Regions from separate parts of the Homo sapiens genome. Here all the other regions are linked to region 4. The links are contacts of gene promoters, found by promoter capture Hi-C in blood cells and fetal thymus (Javierre and others, 2016). All regions are on one chromosome and are shown on one strand. The core of a region is centred on a gene start or on the middle of the fragment in contact, and the rest is flanking DNA. Distances in the headings are between cores, read along the strand shown. Region 1 overlaps GPR160 (G protein-coupled receptor 160). Region 2 overlaps PHC3 (polyhomeotic homolog 3). Region 3 has its middle 26 kb from the start of GPR160. Region 4 holds the start of LRRC31 (leucine rich repeat containing 31). Region 5 overlaps GPR160 (G protein-coupled receptor 160). Region 6 overlaps PHC3 (polyhomeotic homolog 3). Region 7 has its middle 5.8 kb from the start of GPR160.

What was found. Contacts are between HindIII fragments. The CHiCAGO score rates a contact against its expected background, and 5 or more counts as called.
Region 1: a contact is called between a fragment that was not itself captured here and the fragment with the promoter of LRRC31 in region 4, in 8 of 17 cell types (monocytes, M2 macrophages, M0 macrophages and 5 more). The highest score is 9.3, in monocytes.
Region 2: a contact is called between a fragment that was not itself captured here and the fragment with the promoter of LRRC31 in region 4, in 9 of 17 cell types (total B cells, naive B cells, M2 macrophages and 6 more). The highest score is 8.4, in total B cells.
Region 3: a contact is called between a fragment that was not itself captured here and the fragment with the promoter of LRRC31 in region 4, in 1 of 17 cell types (total B cells). The highest score is 5.6, in total B cells.
Region 5: a fragment that was not itself captured here is called in contact with the fragment with the promoter of LRRC31 in region 4 in 6 of 17 cell types (total B cells, monocytes, M2 macrophages and 3 more); the score reaches 8.5 in total B cells.
Region 6: a contact is called between a fragment that was not itself captured here and the fragment with the promoter of LRRC31 in region 4, in 12 of 17 cell types (naive B cells, total B cells, M2 macrophages and 9 more). The highest score is 14.7, in naive B cells.
Region 7: a contact is called between a fragment that was not itself captured here and the fragment with the promoter of LRRC31 in region 4, in 12 of 17 cell types (total B cells, naive CD4 T cells, monocytes and 9 more). The highest score is 13.5, in total B cells.

Annotation. Positions count from the first base shown.
Region 1 is chr3:170,047,291-170,050,310 of GRCh38, forward strand. All of the region lies in intron 2 of GPR160 (G protein-coupled receptor 160), which reads left to right. LOC124909455 (a long non-coding RNA gene) reads right to left here. Exons shown (of 3, transcript XR_007096156.1): 3 at 147-1,568. Among named protein-coding and RNA genes, the nearest start is that of GPR160, 11 kb to the left of the region's middle. The HindIII fragment of the contact is 2,787 bases long and covers 1-2,649 here.
Region 2 is chr3:170,110,315-170,113,210 of GRCh38, forward strand. All of the region lies in intron 11 of PHC3 (polyhomeotic homolog 3), which reads right to left. The region is part of intron 2 of LOC105374209 (a long non-coding RNA gene); the gene reads left to right. Among named protein-coding and RNA genes, the nearest start is that of PHC3, 70 kb to the right of the region's middle. The HindIII fragment of the contact is 5,579 bases long and covers 1-2,896 here.
Region 3 is chr3:170,010,283-170,013,171 of GRCh38, forward strand. No RefSeq gene overlaps it. Among named protein-coding and RNA genes, the nearest start is that of GPR160, 26 kb to the right of the region's middle. The HindIII fragment of the contact is 5,150 bases long and covers 1-2,889 here.
Region 4 is chr3:169,868,512-169,871,585 of GRCh38, forward strand. LRRC31 (leucine rich repeat containing 31) reads right to left here and starts at 1,424. Exons shown (of 9, transcript NM_024727.4): 1 at 1,122-1,424. The coding sequence starts at 1,296. The HindIII fragment of the contact is 9,706 bases long and covers 1-3,074 here.
Region 5 is chr3:170,067,411-170,070,587 of GRCh38, forward strand. The region is part of intron 2 of GPR160 (G protein-coupled receptor 160); the gene reads left to right. Among named protein-coding and RNA genes, the nearest start is that of GPR160, 31 kb to the left of the region's middle. RefSeq lists a silencer at 1,658-1,858. The HindIII fragment of the contact is 6,364 bases long and covers 1-3,177 here.
Region 6 is chr3:170,088,663-170,091,789 of GRCh38, forward strand. PHC3 (polyhomeotic homolog 3) reads right to left here. Exons shown (of 15, transcript NM_024947.4): 15 at 1-3,127. Among named protein-coding and RNA genes, the nearest start is that of GPR160, 52 kb to the left of the region's middle. RefSeq lists a silencer at 2,026-2,226. The HindIII fragment of the contact is 1,837 bases long and covers 611-2,447 here.
Region 7 is chr3:170,030,849-170,033,640 of GRCh38, forward strand. No RefSeq gene overlaps it. Among named protein-coding and RNA genes, the nearest start is that of GPR160, 5.8 kb to the right of the region's middle. The HindIII fragment of the contact is 4,915 bases long and covers 1-2,792 here.

The DNA of each region.
Region 1 (3,020 bases), core at 6-2,505, 180 kb after region 4:
TTTTCTCTTCTTCCTATGGCCTCAGCTACTTTCCATTGCTGCCCTTGCCTCCTGATCCTGCCTGCCTTCAACTTTACTGTATTCTGAAAGGTTTAAAGGGAAAAGTCTTTTATGACCCACAATCCAAGGATCTGAAGGCATTGACATTTGGGTATATTTCCTTTTTATTTTGTTTTACTTTGTTTTTTTATAAATTTAAAAAATTTTAACATTTTATAAACAATTCATTTTATGTTAGAATTTTAACATAGTTGCTATACTTTGATTAAAATTTATCATTATGACGATATCAAAAAGACACCTGCATGCATATGTTTATCATAGCACAATTCACAATTGCAAAGATATGGAATCAACCTAAGTGTCCATCAACCAATGAGTGGATAAAGAATATGTGATATATGTATATACACATCACATATACACATACATATATACACATCACATATACACATACACAACACACCATGGAATACTGCTCAGCTATAAAAAGAACAAAATAATGTCTTTTGCAGCAACTTGGATGGAACTGAAGGACATTATTCTTTTTTTTTTTTTTTTTTTTGAGATGAAGTCTTGCTCAGTCACCCAAGCTGGAATGCAGTGGCCCAATGTCGGCTCACTGCAACCTCCACCTCCCAGGTTCAAGCGATTCTCCCACCTCAGCCTCCCGAGTAGCTGGGATTGCAGGCATCAGCCATCATGTCCAGGTAATTTTTGTAGCGACAGGGTTTCACCACGTTGGCCAGGCTGGTCTCGAACTCCTGACCTCAGGTGATCCACCCGCCTTGGCCTCCCAAAGTGCTGGGATTACAGGCGTGAGCCACCATGCCCATGAAGGCCATTATTCTAAGTGAAGTAACTCAGGAATCGAAAACGAAATGCCATATGTTCTCACTTGTAAGTAAGTGGAAGCTAAGCTATGGGTACACAGAGGCATGCAGAGTGATATAATGGACTATGGAGACTCAGAAGGGCAGGATGGGAAGGGGATGAGGGATGAAAAACAACCTATTAGGTACAATGTACACTACCTGGGTGATGAGTACTCTAAAATCCTAGACTTTACCACTGTACAGTTCATCTATGTAACCAAAACCCACTTGTACACCTAAAGCTATTAAAAAATTTTTTTTAAATAAAAAATCATTGTATTCCCCTATGTCTTTATAAATGTTTTTAATGACTGCATGCTATTTTAGGCTTTTTTAGCCATTCTTTTAAAATATTAGAGAACTAAGTTGTTGCTCATTTTTTGATGTTGTACATCATTCCAATTTGAATGCACATAAACCTTGGATCCCATTTCACATTATTTGAGATGGATTCCTGTAAAAATAAGTACTGAGTCAAAGGTTTTCAACATTGGAAAGTTTTCTTTCTTATCACAAAAGCAACAGATTTGTATTGTGGAAGATACAGGACAGTGTAAAAAGTAAACATGTACCTCTATTCTCACCAACCAGTTGCTGTTTGTGTCGCCGGGTTCTCCCCCTCCAGGACAAATGTCCTCTTCAGGCTTGCTCCATGCGTGGCCTGTCGGCTGGCAGCATGGCATCACCTGGGAGCTTGTTAGAAATGCAAAAGCTCAGGCCTGCCCCAGACATTGAATCAGAATCTGTCTTTTAACAAGATCTATATTCAAGTTTCGGAAGTCTTAGTCCCTGAGGCCACCACCTTACCAGTCACGGTGGGCTGGCATTAATTACCTCTGATCTGTGAATATACGTACATTTTTCCTATTTCCCTGATACTGGGATGTACCACTGTGTCTACCACTGGTTTGCACCCTCCTGTCTCCCTTAACGTAAGACCGTGTAAGGACAAGAGCAGGCTCCCCTCAGTAACACCGGTTCAGGGATCAGCAGGATCTCATCTCATCCCCCTATGAGAAGCCCTGCTACACACAGCTTTATCTTGTATCTGTCATTTAACATTATATTGTCAGCATTTTCCTGTTATTTAGTTTTTCTCTCAAGTTTATCTTTCATGGCTGCAGGTGGTAATCCATCTTATGACTGTCTGATAATTCATTTGACTCATTCCCTATTGTTAGACATTAAGTTGTTTTGATTCTTTTGGGGACTGGGGAGGGTATACTGTGGGCTATTATAAGTATGCCAAAGTGAACTGCTTCCGCAGTAATTATTTCCCTCAACCCAGATTATTTCCTTATGACAAGTTACCAGAGTGCAGACACTGGGTCAAAAGGCATGAACGTTTTAAACCCTCCTTAAAATGCCGCAGGAGTATACAAAGTGCCCTGACATGGTGCCCTCCCAGACACTGGGTAGTGTGGTCTGTAGACAGACTCCAGGGAGCAGGGTCATGCCTCATTCGCATCACGCCTCCAGGGCTGGTGTAGAGCCAACTCTGAGGGTCACTCTAAGGGGACCTGGGGGAATGGAAAGGAAGTGACGGAAGGATGGGCAAGCTGCCTGTGGTGGTGGTGCTCCTTTCCTCCTGGCCTGAGTCCTGAGTCACAGTAGATGTCACTGACCAGGCAGCAGCCTTCCTCAGGGTGTGTCCACAAAGTTTAGCCTTTCCTCCCGGCACCCGTCTTCCAGTGGCTTGGGAGCTGGAGCAGGTGGTGGAGGCCTGAAATGACTACTTGGTGAGTCTGGAATGTGCCGGACCTGATTGCTGCCAAGCTTGTTTTTGCTTCACGAGTCTGAGACTGTTGGGTTCTCTAATACTTTTTTCCTCTCACCAGCAGACCAGGAACCTGATATTAAGTAAACTTTATTCTAAAAGGTACACTCAGACAATTCCTTTTTTTTTTTTTTGACACTGAGTTTCACTCTTGTTGACCAGGCTGGAGTGCAATGGTGCGTTCTCGGCTCACTGCAACCTCCACCTCCCAGGTTTAAGTGATTCTCCTGCCTCAGCCTCTCGAGTAGCTGGGATTACAGGTGCCTGCCACCATGCCCGCCTAATTTACTTCTTCTTCTTTTTTTTTTTGTTGTTGTTGAGATGGAGTTTCGCTCTTGTTGCCCAGGCTGGAGTGCACTGGTGCGATC
Region 2 (2,896 bases), core at 54-2,553, 240 kb after region 4:
GAAACTCACTCTGCCAGTCATACTTCCCACTACCCCTCTAATCCAACCCTCTACTCTTCACTGCCCTCTCTCGAAGTTACCTAGCACTTACACATTCTTAGTGCGTTTACTTAGTGTTCTAATCTGAAATGTTCTCGCTGTTTATCCTAAATCTATGCATTAAATCCACGACCCACTTCAAATCTCATTTTTATAGGAAACCCACCAAACTAGGAATAATCTTAGCCAGTTTTAAAGTTCTAAATTCTGTCTATATAATTCAGTGTGACTATACCATCTGTAGCTCCTTCGTTACCTTTCTGTATGGAGATTCCCTAGATTCCTAGTTCCAAACTACATTAAAAGCTGCTGGAGGGAAAGCGGATTGTATTTTACTTCTTTATGTATGTAAATAATATATACATACATAACCTGTCATGTTCTAGAATAGTCTAACATATACTATATGTCCATTATATTATAAACTGAGGATCACACTATATGTTGTAAAGTTTCCTAAGCAGATTTCCATGTTCTTCCTATTGTGTACACAGGGAGACACATTATAAATACTTTTTAGCCTAGAACTTTCATTTATATACATATTGTAGATATAGGCCAAGAAAAAAAGAATACCTGCACATTCTTTGTTACTTTTCACTTCACATGAGAATGCTCTCAGATAAAATAGTATGTGCAATTAAAAGACAGTATTTGAGAATTAAAGGAAATGAAATTCACAAAAACAAAAGGCACAATACAGACCTTATTTGGAACCTGATTTAACTAAATAACTATAAAATGACTTTAAAAAGTTAGGGAAATATGAATATTGGCCAGGTATTATATAACACCAAAGAATTATTATTTTGCTATGTGTGATATGGCATTATAAGGAAATGTGTATTATTTTGAGAGAGGCACACTGACGTATGTACCGGTGACTACGATTTTCTTTAAAACAAGAAGAAGGAAGGAAGGAAGGAAGGAAGGAAGGAAGGAAGGAAGGAAGGAAGGAAGGAAGGAACGAACGAACGAAAGAACAAAAGAACGGAAAGGAAAGGGAAGGAAGGAAAAAGAAAGAAAGAGAGAGAAAGAAAGAGGAAGGAAGGAAGGAAGGAAGGAAAGAAGGAAGGAGAAAGAAAGGAAAGAGAAGAGAAGAGAGGAGAAGAGAGAAGAAAAAAGAAGGGTGGGGGTTAGGAATGGAGGAAGGAAACAAAATGAATGAAGCTACTGTGGCAAAATAATGTTGAAATTGGGTGATAATGTTGAGTCTGGGTGACTGGGGATTTATTATACGATTCTAATGAATGTTTGAAATTTTTCAAGGTTAACATTCTTTCAAATTAAAACCAATCAAACTGAACTCAGAATAAGTAGTAAAAATCAAATTTTAAACTAATATACTCCTTGCTGTTCAAATAAGAAGTAAAACGGTGATTCACATGTTGCAACAGTTTATAAAGAGCTAACAATGTCAGAGATGTCATCCTTTTAAGTTAGAAAATCTGTGGGCAAAGACAGTATCTAGTTTGCTTACCAGCATGCTATTTCGCTTAATTTAGCGAAGTAAAGGCACACAGTATAGGCTCAATAAATATTTGTAAAGTGAATAAATTAATTTTAATGAAATATACTAATACATTGAGGATAATTACTTAGACACAAGTGTTAATTCACTACTACAGGGCCTTGACTATTCTAAATGCTACTGCATTAAACTGAACTCTATCACCTGAAGGGCCATGATCAAAAAGATGCTCCTATAGAACACGGCAATTCAGAATCTCAGCCCAAAAAACAGTAAAAACTTTGCTGCTTTTAAATAGCAAATTCAAGGTATAAAATACCGTTTTCATTTTCATTTTTGTTTGCTTTCCTTCAGTCATTTTGGATACCACTTGGACTTCTATTTACTTTATTTCATTTTTTTTTTGAGACGGAATCTAGCTCTGTCGCCAGGCTGGAGTGCAGTGGCACAATTTCGGCTCACTGCAACTTCCGACTCCCTGGTTCAAGCGATTCTCCTGCCTCAGCCTCCAAAGTAGCTGGGATTACAGGCACACACCACCAGGCCCAGCTAATTTATATATATATATATATTTTTTTTTAGTAGAGATGGGGTTTCACCATGTTGGCCAGGATGGTCTTGATCTCTTGACCTTGTGATCCACCCACCTCAGCCTCCCAAAGTGCTGGGATTACAGACATAAGCCACCGCGCCTGGCCTATTTTTTTTTTTTTTTTTGAGATGGAGTCTTGCTCTGTCACCCAGGCTGGAGCACAGTGGCGCAATCTCAGCTCACTGCAACCTCCGCCTCTGGGGTTCAAGCAATACTCCTGCCTCAGCCTCCCAAGTAGCTGGTATTACAGGTGCATGCCACCACACCTGGCTAATTTTTGTATTTTTAGTAGAGACGGGGTTTCACCATGTTGGTCAGGCTGGTCTCAAACTCCTAACCTCAAGTGATCTGCCTGCCTCGGCCTCCCGAAGTGTTGGGATTACAGGCATGAGCCATCGTGCCTGGCCTTATTTCATTCTTTATTAGAATAAAGTCTATAAAAAAGGAGTTTTCTCGTTGAACAAATGTAACCACCTCTTGAATGAAGAGTATATACTTAATACAATTATAATATCCACCTGATGTCAAACATCAGCATGCAGAAAGTCTGAAACGAAACAACCCAGAAGCTCTAAAATTTTAAGCTAACTCACTAAAATACTCATTTGTTACTTAAGTCTGCTTTAAAAAAGAAAGAAAATTGATTGTTTTGATACTAAAATTCTGAATTGCCTTCTCTCACATATGATGGAACTTTTCCCACTCACACTCCTTCAAAAGTCAAACTGACATTGAAGAAATTAGCACTAATCTTGCTATTTTAGTTATGTGACCATTGAGAGTCTGATTAGCTT
Region 3 (2,889 bases), core at 243-2,742, 140 kb after region 4:
TAAGATATGAAACAACCCAATATAAAAATGGGCAAAAGAAACGAACAGATACATCAACAAAGAAGACACACAGATGAAAAAAAAACTATGAAAAGATGCTCTACATCATATGTCATTAAGGAACTGCAAATTAAAACAGTGAGATACCACTACATACCTATTAGAATGGCCAAAATAACCTACGGCCATGCCACCCTGAACATTCCCCATCTTGCCTAGAATGGCCAAAATCCAAAGCACTGACAACACCAAATCCTGGAAAGGATGGGAAACGGCAGGAACTCTTATTTATTGCTAGTGGAGACACAAAATAGTATAGCCACTTTGGAAGACAGTTTGATGGCTTTTTGTTTTGTTTTGAGACAGGGTCTCACTCTGTTACCCAAGCTAAAGTGCAGTGGTGCGATCATGGCTCACTGTAGCTGAAACCTCCCAGGCTCAAGCAATTCTCCCACTCAGCCTCCTGAGTAGCTGGGACCACAGGTGTGCACCATCACATGTGGCTAATATTTTTTTGAGACAGAGTCTCACTCTGTTGCCCAGGCTGGAGGACAGTGGCACGACCTAGGCTCACTGCAACCTCCACCTCCGGGGCTCAAGCTATTCTCTTGCCTCAGCCTCCCTAGTAGCTGGGATTGCAGGTGCACACCACCACGCCTGGCTAATTTTTATATTTTTAGTAGAGACGGTGTTTCACCATGTTGGCCAAGCTGGTCTTGAACTCCTGACCTCAGGTGATCAGCCCACCTCAGCCTCCCAAAGTGCTGGGACTACAATGAGTTAGCCACCGCTCCTGCTCACACCTGGCTAATTTAAAATTTTTGTGTGTGTGTGGAGAAGAGGTCTCCTTATGTTGCCCAGGCTGGTCTCAAACTCCTGGGTTCAAGCAATCCTCCCACCTTTGCCTCACAAAGTGCTAGTATTACAGGTGTGAGCCAGCACACCTGGCTACAGTTTCTTAACAGATGGAAAAATGAATCCACACAAAGGGAAAAAGAGCATCAAAAATGGCATTGGGGCCAGGCGCCATGGCTCACACCTGTAATCCCAGCACTCTGGGAGGCCAAGGTGGCCTCGGATCACCTGAGGTCAGGAGTTCAAGACCAGTCTGGCCAACATGATGAAACCCTGTCTCTACAAAAAATATAAAAAGATTAGCTAGGCGTGGTGGCGTGTACCTATAAGACCAGCTACTCAGGAGGCTGAGGCAGGAGGATTGCTTGAACCAGGGAGGCAGAGGTTGCAGTGAGCTGAGATCACACCATTGCACTCAAGTTTGGGAAACAGAGCACGACTCCATCTCCAAAAAAAAAAAAAAAATGGCATCAATTTTCAACTTGTGATGGGGGATTTCCTGATTGTCTCTTTCCAGAATATCTTTAAGGTCAAAATATTTTCGTAATAATACTGATGTTGTTGCCTTTTCACTCTCATTCTCTCACAAGCATAAGTGGAGTTTTCCAGTGTGATATGGGAACAGATTGAATGCGGAGGCAGACATGAGAATCTAGCTTTCTTCTATTCATCCAGATATTCAACAGATTTGTTAAAAATGTAAAACAGCCACTCATCTCACAAACATTTTCTTTCTGAAAAAGTTATTTTTCATAGACATGTTATTTCTGTTAATGTGTCCTCTTTTATTATTGTTTCTAAAAATTTATGTTTTAATCTTTCTTTTATTTTGAGACTAGGTCTCACTCTGTTGCTCAGGCTGGAGTACAGTGCATGATCATAGTTCACTCTAACTCGAACTCCTGGGCTCGAGGGATTCTCCTGTCTCAGCTTCCTGAGTAGCGTGGACTACAGGCATGTGCCACCACACTCAGCTAATTAAATTTTTCGTAGAAACAGGGTCTCGCTATGTGGCCTAGGCTGGGCTCAAACTCCTGGCCTCAAACAATCCTCCCACCTCAGCTTCCCAGAGCTCTGGGATTACAGGGTGAGCCACTGCCTGTTTTAATTTCTTTTCTTTTTTTTTTTTTTTTTTTTTTTTTGAGACGGAGTCTTTCTCTGTCACCCAGGCAGGAGTGCAGTGGCGTGATCTCGGCTCACTGAAACCTCCGCCTCCCAGGCTCAAGCTATTCTCCTGCCTCAGCCTCCCGAGTAGCTGGGATTATAGGCACCACGTACCACCACACTAGGTTAATTTTTGTATTTTTAGTAGAGATGGGGTTTCATCATGTTGGTCAGGCTGGTCTCGAAATCCTGACCTCGTGATCCGCCCACCTCAGCCCCCCGAAGTGCCAGGATTACCGGCATGAGCCACCACGCTTAGCTGCCTGTTTTAATTTCTAACCGCAGCAAATAATCCACACCAACAGGACTCTTTGGCATTCTCAATAATTTTTAAAAGTAGTTAAAAGGTCCTGAGCCCAAAACGTGTGAGAGTTGTTGTTCTAGAGTAACTAGCATTGAAAGTTCTTTCACAAAGCTGACTGCAAATAAGGAAGATTTGGTGACACATAGAACCAGGTGGTAAAAATACAGGATGAGGGAAGGGCTTTCGAAATGGAGGCAAACAGAATAGGATCAGAAAATCTGAGCTGGAGATTAGTACAAAAGGGAGGAGGGACTAAATCTTTTATTGTGTCTGGGGTGTAGATCATTTACCTGCTCACTGTAGACTCGTGCCTGACAAATATAATTGCCTGGCAACCTCGGCTATTAGTTGTTTGAGACAGAGATATGATTGTAGATTCTGGCTGTATGTAATAATAATACCTCTTAAATTGCATCTGGCACTTAGGGACGCTGTCTAAATCCCTTGTGGCATCATTATTCATAGTTGCCTTCTGTGTTCATTTTACTTATAAAGAAATTGAAAACTCAGAAAAGAGTGTGTGGCTTTGGATTTAGGTAGCCCCGGATTAAAAATCCTGCCTAATG
Region 4 (3,074 bases), core at 174-2,673:
TTCATGGCTGTATTTCTAACACTTAGAGCAGGGGTTACTACATAGCAAGCACTCAATAAAGATTTATTGACTGCTGACTGACAGAACATAAATGCATGCATATGAAAAGAAAAGACTGAAAAGAATCTTAAAGAAATGATCGTTTGTGTTATAATGAAAGGAAATTCAGTATTTTCCCTACATTTTTCTGTAGTGTTATATTGCTTTTAACAATTTAAAAGTAAAATTATGAATCATTTAAAGCATGTAAGTAACATAATAAATGATTAGCACAGAGACTCATAGTTGAGTCTTTAGTCTCAAAAGTCTTAAAGTCTTTAGTTTAACCCATAAGATCACTTTAGAAGAAAACTCTAAAAAATAAAGAAACATAGAGGCTGGGAAGGGTGTGTGTGTTGTTGGTGGGGGAGGTGTGGATGGTTAATGGGTACAGAAAAAATAGAATATATAAGATCTACTGTTTGATAGCACAACAGGGTGACTATATTTATCCTTTGTTTACAAACAACCCGTTGTGCTCTTTTAGTTATTTTTAAATGTGCAATAATTTATTGCACATTTAAAAATAACTAAAAGAGGCCTGGTGTGATGGCTTACACCTGTAATCCCAGCAGTTTGGGAGGCCAAGGCAGGAAAATCACCTGAGGTCAGGAATTCGAGACCACCCTGGCCAATGCAGTGAAACCCCATCTCTACTAAAAACACAAAAATTAGCTGGGCATGGTGGTGCGCATCTGTAATCCCAGCTACTCGGGAGGCTGAGGCAGGAGAATCGCTTGAACCCGGGAGGCAGAGGTTACTATGAGCTGAGATCACGCCATTGCACTCCAGCCTGGGTGACAAGAGTGAAACTCTGTCTCAAAATAAATAAATAAATAAATAAAACTAAAGGTATAATGGGATTGTTTGTAACACAAAGGATAAATGCTTGAGGGGATGGATACCCCATTCTCCACAATATGATTATTAGGCATTGCATGCCTGTATTGAAACATCTCATATACCCCATAAATATATACACCTACTATGTACCCACAAAAATTAAAAATAAAAATATTTTAAATGTGGAAGTAAAAACAAAACAAATACAACAGCAAAAACACCAGCAGCCAGCAGCTTACCAGTCTCTGAGGTGGCTGTCTTCTGTATCCAGTCGCTGGGTTGGGAATCACTTGTTTTAAGGTCATTGTCCTCTTTTCTGCTTTCAGCATTGGAGCCCCTGAGAAATTTGTTGACAGTTGAAGTCTGGGGCTTAGTTTCTCCTTCTGAGGAAGTTTTCTTCCTTGTTTGACTCATGGTGAAGTTGATGGGGGTAGTTCCCAATAAGACATCTTCCTGTTGCTTTCTGTTTTCTAGGATTTCTAAGAAGAAAAGAAGATTCTGTCAAGCCTGTGTTCAATCAAAATATCCTCCCCTACATGACTGCCCCCCACTCCCTGCCGCACCACCTTTCTTTTTCTGTTTTTTTATTGCTGTTAATGTTTAACATGAAAATAAGAATGATGTAACCCAGGATCCAGAAGCCAATACAAACTCAAAGCAATTTGAGTTTTTAACTTTGCCCTATTTCATTGTGTGAGATACAAGTCATTAAGCATGACTTTGGCAAGCACATCAAGTGTGTCAACACATCTTAAATTACAGCTGTCAATTAGTTACCTGAAGACTTAATATGCCTTTAAAAGGGACTGGCCATTTGCAAAGCTGTCCCCAGAGGAGTTTGCCTTCAGCGACCTCTGCCTTCTGGTGACCCCCACCTCCTTCCTTTGCACATAAGCTCCTTTTTCTCTTTGCATATTCATATTTTCTCTACCCCCAACCCTGCACCACCACCCCACTGAAACATGTTGGCAGTAAAGAATTCATTCATTCCATAAATAGTTTTAAAGAATCTACTGTGGGCCAGTTAATGTTCTAAATGCAAAAGATTCAATGACGAACAAGAGACAGTTCTTGTCTTTGATGGGATCTTAACCTGGTGGGAAGATGGACCTGTATGCCATTGATTGAGTGGGACAAGAGCCAAGAGATGGGAGGTGGTCAGGGAACCCACAGTAAACTAAGCATGCCTTGGAGAACAGACTTGGAACAGTGAGTGACATTGCCTGGGTTTTGAAGGACTGCGAGTTAGCTTTTTAAGAGAGGGAAGAGTATCCCAGGCAGAAGAAAGGGTAAGCTCAAGAGCTCCCAGGCAGGAACGGCTGGAAGAGCCTAGCATTGGAGGTGGGGATGTGGGTCAGGGGGTGTGGAGGTTAGGGGTGAGGTCTGGTATGAATTGAAGCTAAAAAGGATTCGTAAAGGTCAATCTATTATCTCTCCTGAAATTTGCTTATATTTTATGGGAGGGCTAAGGACTTAAACTAAAGGGATACACAGAAGTGTTTTGTTTTGTTTTGACATAGAGATGGATTTTCACCATGTTGGCCAGGCTCGTCTTGAATTTCTGGCCTCAAGTGATCCGCCCACCTCGACCTCCCAAAGTGCTGGGCTTAAAGGTGTGAACCATCATGCCCAGCAGAAGTATTCTTGAAATTACAGTTTTCATAGTCTCCTCTCTAATAAAATAGCTCTTTCTGTAACATTATGTTCCAGAATGGTCCAAGAAACATTTTACACAGGGAATCCTAAAAATGGACCTTGCAGAGCCCACCTCCACTCGTGAGGGCTGGAATGTTCCATGCACTTGGAGCACTGCTTTGGAAGTCACAATTGGACATTCCATTTTTCTTTTAAAATCTTCCTTTCATATTAGAGCAGGGCCCAGCCCTGGTTTACCCAGCAACAGACAGCAGTGGAACTAAACAATTACTCCATGCACAGCAGCACAGCTGACTAGAGTCTCAGGGGGTTAGGTGGAAAAGAAGAAGGAAAGGGGCGCTAACTCATAAATCTAAACATGACCTGCAGCCCTGGCTGCCTCACCCTGATTCCACCATCACCCCAGGCCTTTCTCAATTTGCTACTCTTCTGGCCCCCCACCCAGGACACCTCCATGGTCATTTTCAGCCAATTTCACCATTTGGAGATTTAGACAGGGCTATTCTCTGGGGAGCTAGCTCAGTAAATGGTTTCAC
Region 5 (3,177 bases), core at 223-2,722, 200 kb after region 4:
TATTGGGATTTTGATCTTTTTCTTGTTTGATTTCCAGGAGCTCTTTATAAATTAGGTTAATATTTTACCATTTTTTTTCTTCTAGTTTGATCAGTCCCTTAGAATTGAAGGCATCTCTGGCTTCCAGTGTTTCCAAAAAGCCTGACCCCCATTCCCATGTCACCACCTCTCAGGTAAAGAGCAGGAACTTTGCTCCAATAGGCCCCTTCCATGTGACCTCTGCAATCACAGTCCCTCGCTTCCCCCAAAATAACTTCACTTTTACAGTCATCAGCACTTCTTTGCATTTAGAAGTTTTACCACCCAAATGCATATCTTTAGAGACTCCAATTTAGTCTTACCTTTAAAAAAAAAAGTTATCTGGGATGTGTTTTTTTACTCTCTAAATTACTTCTCCATTTTTCCCCTTTGTTTTTCTCTTGAAGAACTGGACTCCTTGACCAATAGGGTTTTCCACAGTGTGAGTCTTGCTAATTGCATGCTCATGATTCAGCTCAGTATATCCCTCAATCCTCTATTTCTTGCAAACTGGCAGCTGGATTCAGAGATTTAATGAAACTCAGGTTTGCCATATAGGAGGCACAAAATGTCTGGTTGTCTCTCCTGTTGAGATGATGGTAGGTACAGGTGCTAAAATGTCTACGTGGGTGGTGGGTTGGGGAGAAGTTGTTGCAAGATGGTGGAATTCTAAGTCTAAATTTTACGTTTCATTTATAAGTTGAAACACTCTTTATTTTTATTTATTTATTTTTTGAAACGGAGTCTTGCTCTGTCACCCAGCTGGAGTGCAGTGGTGTGATCTCGGCTCACTGCAACCTCTGCCTCCCAGGTTCAAGCTATTCTCCTGCCTCAGCCTCCTGAGTAGCTGGTATTACAGGCGTGCACCACCATGCCCCACTAATTATTTTTCTTTTTTGTATTTTTAGTAGAGATTGGGTTTTTCCATGTTGGCCAGGCTGGTCTCAAACTCCTGACCTCAAGTGATCCACCCACTTTGGCCTCCCAGAGTGCTGGGATTACAGGTGTGAGCCACTGCACTTGGCTCATTATTGCCTTTTCTTGAGTTCTTCCCCTCCAGTTTGCTCTCTTTCTGTGACTCCTGTTATTCAGAGTTTGCACCTGTTGGATTGGTCCTCCATGTTTCTTAACTATTTCTCTTTTTATTTCACTTTTTCTAGGAAATTTCCCAAACATTATTTTCCAACTCTCTGTTTACCTTACTACTTCTGCCATCATATTTTATTTTCCAAGAGGTCTTTTTTGTTTTCTGTTGTTATTATAAATAGCCTCCTCTTCTTGTATGGATGCAATATTTTCTCCCTGAAAACAATGAGTTTTTAAATAGCTTTCTTCTATCTAGCATTGTGTCTATTTCCTCCAAGTTGTCTTTTTTCTGCTTGTGGATTTGTTTAACTTTCAATACTAGAGATTTTCTTTGAATGTCTGAGGATCTTTGGATGTCCAGTCATATTTATAAGTAGGGCAGTATCTAGGCTGTTTCTTCAGGGAAGATTCAATGTAGTATCTTTAGATATTTCTTCCTGGGCTGATGCCTAGAGAGAACTGTTTGAGTCTTTATATCTTGTAATAATAGTATTCCTGAAATCCAACTGTAAAAAGGCTGGAGAGGTCTCAACTTCCGCTATATGTATTTTTATGCAGTCTCCCTGTTATCAGTATGATGCTCCTCTAATCCTCAACTCTGCCTACCGTCCAAAGATTGTTTTATCTTCCCCAGAGGGGAAAACCTCATTCTTACTCCGCAGTTGGAGAGGGAGTCATTTGCTGCACTGAGTCAGGGAAGAGATCTGGGGACCTAACTGCTTATTTCATTTGCAACGAATCTATCTGTTTTTATCCCCATCTTTGCATCCCTTTCTGAAGACACTTGGGTCAGCCACTCTTGAGATTTTTGAGGGTCCTGAGGTATAAATTGGGTTGCGACTCTGCTTTCTCCACTGCTAGCTTCAGTCTGTATTCACTGTATGTGATTCACCTGAGGATTTATTAAAACTGCAGATTGGTTTCATAGATCTGAGCTGGAGCCTGAGGGTCTATGTGAATAGCAGTCTCCTAGGTGATGCTTGGACCACACTTTGTGTAGATGGGGCTCACTCATTTACCGTCCATCTGTTCATTTTCCAGCCTCTGAAATTTTGTCCTTGGAGATTTGTACATTTTTTTTAAAGTTATGAAAATTTTCAAACATACATACAAATAGTTAGAACAGCCATTAACCAGTGGTCGATCCTGCCCCATCTATACTTTCATCCACTCGACCCCCAGCACACACACTGCATTATGTTGGCGCAAATTCCAGACAACCTATTTCATCTGTAAATATTTTAGTATGTATTATTTTAAATAGTGAGATTTAAATATAACCACACATATTAATTTGTTAGGGCTGCCATAACAAACCACCACAGGCTGGGTGGCTGAAACAACAGCTCTGGGGGCTGAAAGGGTGAGATCGAGGTGTCCCAGGGGCGGTTTCTCCTGGGGCCTTTTGCAGCCTGTAGATGGCTGTCTTCTCGCTGTGCCCTCCCACAGCCTTTTCTCTGTGTACCAGCATCCCTAGTATCATGTGTGTGTGTCCAAATTACCTCTTTAAAGGTCCTATCTCCAAATATAGTCACATTTGGAGGTGCTGGGAGTTAAAGGCTTCAACATATGAATTTGGGGGGATATAATTCAGCCCATCATACCATAATTTCCCATTGTCTTATATATGTAATTCTTTGTTGCCATGAATTCAGATAAATTCTACACATTGCACTTAGTTGATATATCCTAAGTCTTAATTTTTGTATTGTTGTTGAAACAATTTATTGAAGTAACAAATTGTAATCCTATAGAGCATACCACCATGTGGATTTTCTTTACTGCATCCTGTGGGGTCATTAAATAAGTTATTGTCCTCTTTCTTGAACATCAGTAGTTGAATCTACAGGTTTGGTCGGGTTCTAATTTTTTGGCAAGCCCACTTTGTAGATAGCAAGGTACTCTTCAATTTCCACCTTTCAGTATTAGTATTGATGATCTTTGGCTACCTCCATTTAGTACATCAGAGGTGGCAAATTGGGCAGTTTCCAAATTTTATCATTCCTTATTCACTCATATTAGCTAGAGTACTTCCAAAAAAAGTAAACATCACCTCACTTACTATTCTGTCAC
Region 6 (3,127 bases), core at 279-2,778, 220 kb after region 4:
TTTTAACAGCATAACATATTTGAAGAATTAGTTACACTTTAAAAATTAAAACACTTGAAAAGTATTTTTTAAACCAGTACCATGGAATAACTTTTTGAAACCCAGATTATCTGGCTACTTAGATGATAGTCTTCCTGTTTTCAATTAGTTTGAAAGATTCTAATATAGATTCTAACCCAACAGTTTATATGGATATTTTCCTGCTTTAAAAAGCTGCAACAGGCTAGGCGCAGTGGCTCATGCCTATAATCCCGGCACTTTGGGAGGCTGAGGTGGGCGGATCACTTGAGGTCAGGAGTTCGAGTCCAGCCTGGCCAACATGGTGAAACCCCATCTCTACTAAAAATACAAAAAACTGGCCAGGCATAGTGGTGCATGCCAGTAATCCCAGCTACTTGGGAGGCCAAGGTGGGAGAATCTATTGAACCTGGGAGGTGGAGGTTGCATTGAGCCAAGATCACACCGCTGCACTCAAGCCTGGGTGACAGTGAGACTCTGTCTCAAAACAAACAAAACAAAAAAGCTAAAACAATGATAAACTATTTTTAATAGATATTTTCATTCTATATCTTTATGGAGAATGTCAGTATCAACTGATGTTAACAAGTAAAGCTTTGTCAACAGGAATTACAATGTGATTCACAGATCCCAGAATGACAAGGAAGGGACCTTAACCCAATAAATGATTCTCCCATTCAATGTTTACCCCCTAGATACTTAACAATTCAAGCATGGAACTGTTTCATGTTTACCCGTTCTACATTTAAAGGATGCCCTTTTACTATATATGTGCTTTCTAGAATATTACTGATTCTTACATATCTTTAAAAGTTGGATATTTGTAATAGCTTAAAGTACAGTAACACTTATTTTGTGTAATCTTTCTTAATTTAAAAACAAAAAATAAATGAACAAGTCAGTTCCAATGATCTCCTTTGAGATTTTTCAGTTTTAGAAAGTTGCTACACTGTCGGACAGGTGTGGTGGCTCATGCCTGTAATCCCAGCACTTAGGGAGGCCAAGGCAGGTGGATCACTTGAGGTCAAGAGTTCGAGACTAGCCTGGCCAACATGGTGAAGCCCCGTCTCTACTAAAAATACAAAAATTAGCCAGGTGTGGCGGCGGGCACCTGTAATTCCAGCTACTTGGAAGGCTGAGGCAAGACAATCGCTTCAACCCGGGAGGTGGAGGTTGCAGTGAGCTGAGATCGCACCACTGCACACCAGCCTGGGCAACAGAGCGAACCCATCTCAAAAAAAAAAAAAAGAAAAAAAAAAAAAAAGAAAGAAAGTTGCTCACTGTCAATACTGGGTAAAAAGCTCTTATATCAACACCAGCTTTTTTTTTGTTCTGCCACATGCCTTGTATAGCAACAACTCTGGAATAGAGTCAAGTGTCAAAATAATGTTGTGAAATACGGGCTGTCTCAACCTGTAAGTCCTTAATGTTAAGTCTCCTAAATTTTGTAACTTAATCAGGTATGGGGCCAACTGATGTTTAGTATGTGAAATGTGTTATAAAAATTATGATATGATTCACTCAGACCCCTTAGATGTCATCTAGCCTAACCCTTTACCCAATGTATACAAATATTCCCTCCCAGTTCCAAGTTTATTAAGATTCCCTCTCAGTATATTAAGTAGTAATGATTATGTTCATATTTATTTAAGCCACAATGAATTTTGGGGGGAAGATTTTACTTACTACTAGTTCCTCATGTCATGTTCACCAAACACTGCACATGTAAGTGTTCAAATAGTTTGCTAAATGAATTTAAGTACATGAATGACAATATTCATATGTGTTCATATATTCAGTGGTTAACCAATAAGGAGCATTTAGGAAAATGTCATCATTTGCTTGTTATGTATGAATTTTCTATTTTAATCCTTAGGAGAACAAAGACTGTAGGTGACCCAAGAAATGGATGCTTATTAAGTATAAAATGAACCCTTAAAAAAGGAAAGAGAATAAAGTAGGAATAACCCCATTACACAGCCTAGAATCATAGTTTTAGAGCTGGGAGGTACCTTAAAGATGAATTAAACCAAAATCAACTTTTGAGTAGTACAGGCACCATACTGCATATCTGGAAGCTGTTAAAACAGCTGAGTAATTGCCCAACATGTCACACACAGCTAACCCACTGAAATAAAACCCCAGTCTCCAGACCAGTGTGTTAATCCTCATTCATCATCATCTTAATTCATTATTTACTACTGAAATAGATTATTTACTGATTATTTAATACTACCCAAAACAAAAAATACTTTTAAGAGAAGCATTCTAAATAAAGATTTAAACACTAGACACTTCTGGTTTACTTTAGGCAAGACTAAAAAATTCTTTCTAAAACAGGTTGATGTTTAACTTCACTAATGACTAGACACCCCACCACTCTCTCATAAACACCAACTTTTTCACCACCATCACTTAAAGCTCCACAAAGCTTGGATTTAACACTGATAATATTCCATGAAATATAACTTTTAAGCCAATAAGTGATGGTGACTATCAATCCTTAAGATGATTACTGGAGTAAATTTAAACAGGTGCTCTAAAAGAACTTACTACCTTACTCTTATATTTAATTAACACCTTGCCATGTTAGTATAACAGTGTTTTCAAATTATGTTGTTTTCAAAACTGAAATTCATTCATTACTCTGCTTTTTTTAAACAACAAATTTTGTTTTCTTTCTATGGATTCATACTGAACACCACCAGTATCACTGAGAGGACTAGTACTTGTAAAAAGCAGTAGAAACAAAAATATTTTTCAAAAGTATAAAGCTAGCTAGAACCTCACTATGTTGTACCTCTAACATTTCCGATTAAAATTGTCATCTTTAAGTAAAATTAAATGTCAACAAACTATAAAAGGGAAAAAATAAAACATCTGGAAAACATTTCCCAAATGTTCCCATAAACATGACACTTGGAAGGGGTGTGTGCATGTGTCTGAGTAGAAAAGCTGATCTTCAGAGCTGAAAAGGAGGGCAGAGATTCTCCCTTAATGTATGTTTTCTAAATTGAAAGTTTAGAAAAAGCCATATTCTCTGGAATGTGATGGTAATAATTATATTTGTATTATTTGTATTAATGCTTTACAACTTTCAAAAAAAAGC
Region 7 (2,792 bases), core at 107-2,606, 160 kb after region 4:
ACACGATTTATAAATTTAGAAAAGATTGGCCAGGCACAGTGGCTCACGCCTGTAATCTCAGCACTTTGGGAGGCTGAGGTGGGCGGATCATGAGGTCAGGAGATCGAGACCATCCTGGCTAACACAGTGAAACCCCGTCTCTACTAAATAAAATACAAAAAATAAAATTAGCCAGGCATGGTGGCGGGCGCCTGTAGTCCCAGCTACTTGGGAGGATGAGGCAGGAGAACAGTGTGAACCCGGGAGGCGGAGCTTGCAGTGAGCTGAGATCGCGCCACTGCACTCCAGCCTGGGCAACAGAGCAAGACTCCATCTCAAAAAAAAAAAAAATTAGAAACGGTGAAGGAGACTTTTTTTTTTTTTTTAAGGATTACAGCCTTCAAGGCGACCACTGTGCAGGCTGGGAAGCATGCCTCTGGCCAAGATCAGAGACAGGCACTTTGAAGGAGGAGAGATTAAAATAAAGCTCCTCAAAGGGTTGGTTAAACATACATATTCAACAGGTTACAGGAGGAGCTATGAATTGCCAAGACCGGCTCGGTCAGGGAGACCCTAACCCAGCAGTGCTAGAGTAATTAAAGACACACACACAGAAATATAGAGGTGTGGAGTGGGAAATCAGGGGTCTCACAGCCTTCAGAGCTGCTGAGAGCTTCGAACAGAGATTTACCCACATATTTATTGACAGCAAGCCAGTGATAAGCATTGTTTCTACAGACTGTAGATTAACTAAAAGTATTCCTTATGGGAAATAAAGGGATGGGCCGAAATAAAGGGATGGGTTTGGCTAGTTGTCTGCAGCAAGAGCATGTTCTTAAGGCACAGATGGCTCATGCTATTGTTTGTGGTTTAAGAACGCCTTTAAGCCGTTTTCCGCCCTGGGTGGGCCAGGTGTTCCTTGCCCTCATTCTGGTAAACCCACAACCTTCCAGTGTGGGCATCATGGCCATCATGAACATGTTACAGTGCTGCAGAGATTTTGTTTATGGCCAGTTTTGGGGCCAGTTTATGACCAGATTTTGGAGGGCCTGTTCCCAACAATGAATATTCATGGTAGTCCTGATGCACACGTACTGAACAAACATGCATGTAACATACATTCATTTTGGAGTGGATACTTAACATTGAAATGTATTACAATTCGGACACACACATCAAAGTATCTTTTCAGGATACAAAAAAGAGCACGACCTCTGTAAACCAACTAGAACCAGTCCATGGTCAGTGGTCTTATTAAGAGAAAGTTACTGAAATCAGTCTCTTGTCCAATCAAAGCTGTGGTTTTACGGCTGATGGGACAGGGGCTGAGGATCAATTAGCATCTGACGGAGCCGCAAATAGTTTTAATATTGCTTATCTCAAGGTCAGTGCTTGTTTAGCTGCTACAGAAAAAGAAAACCCTTATAATTGTGAACCCCAAAAATCCGAGACAGGTCTCAGTTAATTTAGAAAGTTCATTTTGCCAAGACTGAGGATGCATGCCTGCCCACGACCCAGACTCAGGAGGTCCTCACCACATGTGCCCTAGGGGGTCAGAGCACAGTTTGGTTTTATACATTTTAGGGAGACATGAGACGACATCAGTCAACACATGTAAGATGAACATTGGCTCGGTCTGGAACGGCAGGACAACTTGAAGCAGGGAGGATGTCAGGCCTCTGAGCCCAAGCTAAGCCGTCATATCCCCAGTGACCTGCACGTATACATCCAGACGGCCTTAAGCAACTGAAGATCCACGAAAGAAGTGAAAATAGCCTTAACTGATGACATTCCACCATTGTGATTTATTGCTGCCCCAACCTGACTGATCAATGTACTTTGTAATCTCCCCCACCCTTAAGAAGGTTCTTTGTAATTCTCCCCACCCTTGAGAATGTACTTTGTGAGATCCACCCCTGCCCGCAAAACATTGCTCCTAACTCCACCGACTATCCCAAAACCTGTAAGAACTAATGATAATCCACCATCCTTTGCTGACTCCTTTTTCGGACTCAGCCCACCTGCACCCAGGTAAATAAACAGCCTTGTCGCTCACACAAAGCCTGTTTGGTGGTCTCTTCACACAGATACCTGAGAAAGAGGAGGCTTCCTGGTCATAGGTAGAGAAGAAACAAATGATTGCATTCTTTTGAGTTTCTGATTAGCCTCTGATTAGGCTCTTTCATTTATACTAGCCAGTGACTAATGGGTGACTTTGAATAGAATGGGAGGCAGGTTTGCCCTAAGCAGTTCCCAGCTTGACTTTTCCTTTTAGCTTAGTGATTTGGGGGCCTCAAGATATTTTCCTTTCACATAATATAGTTAGAACACAGGCCTATGTCCTGTTTATAATGTGGTATCTTATTGCCACAAAGAGTCTATTCTGTCAGCCTTATGATCTCTATTTTAACATTAATGCTGGTCAGTTGTGTCTAAACCATAAAAGGGAGGGGTATAATGAGATGTGGTTGACCTCCCATCTTGTCATGGCCAGGAACTCAGTTTAAGGCTTTTCTGGGGTCCCCTTGGCCAAGAGAGGTTCTTTTCAGTCGGTGGGGGGCTTAGGATTTTATTTTTAGGTGACAAGGCTTTTCTTTGGGAACAATAGTATATCTAGTGGGATTATATTCAATTCCATGGAACAAACCCTGACCTTAAACAAGTAAGGGGGTTGCTTTTCTCGTGTAGTAAGACATCTGGAGCTAGGCACAGCTAGGTGGGTGCGGCTCCACCTTTATTGTGGGCTGTCCCAGAGTCTAAGACTACTGCTCCACCTCCAGCCTCAAGGCAACCTCACAGCAACCTCAAAGCAG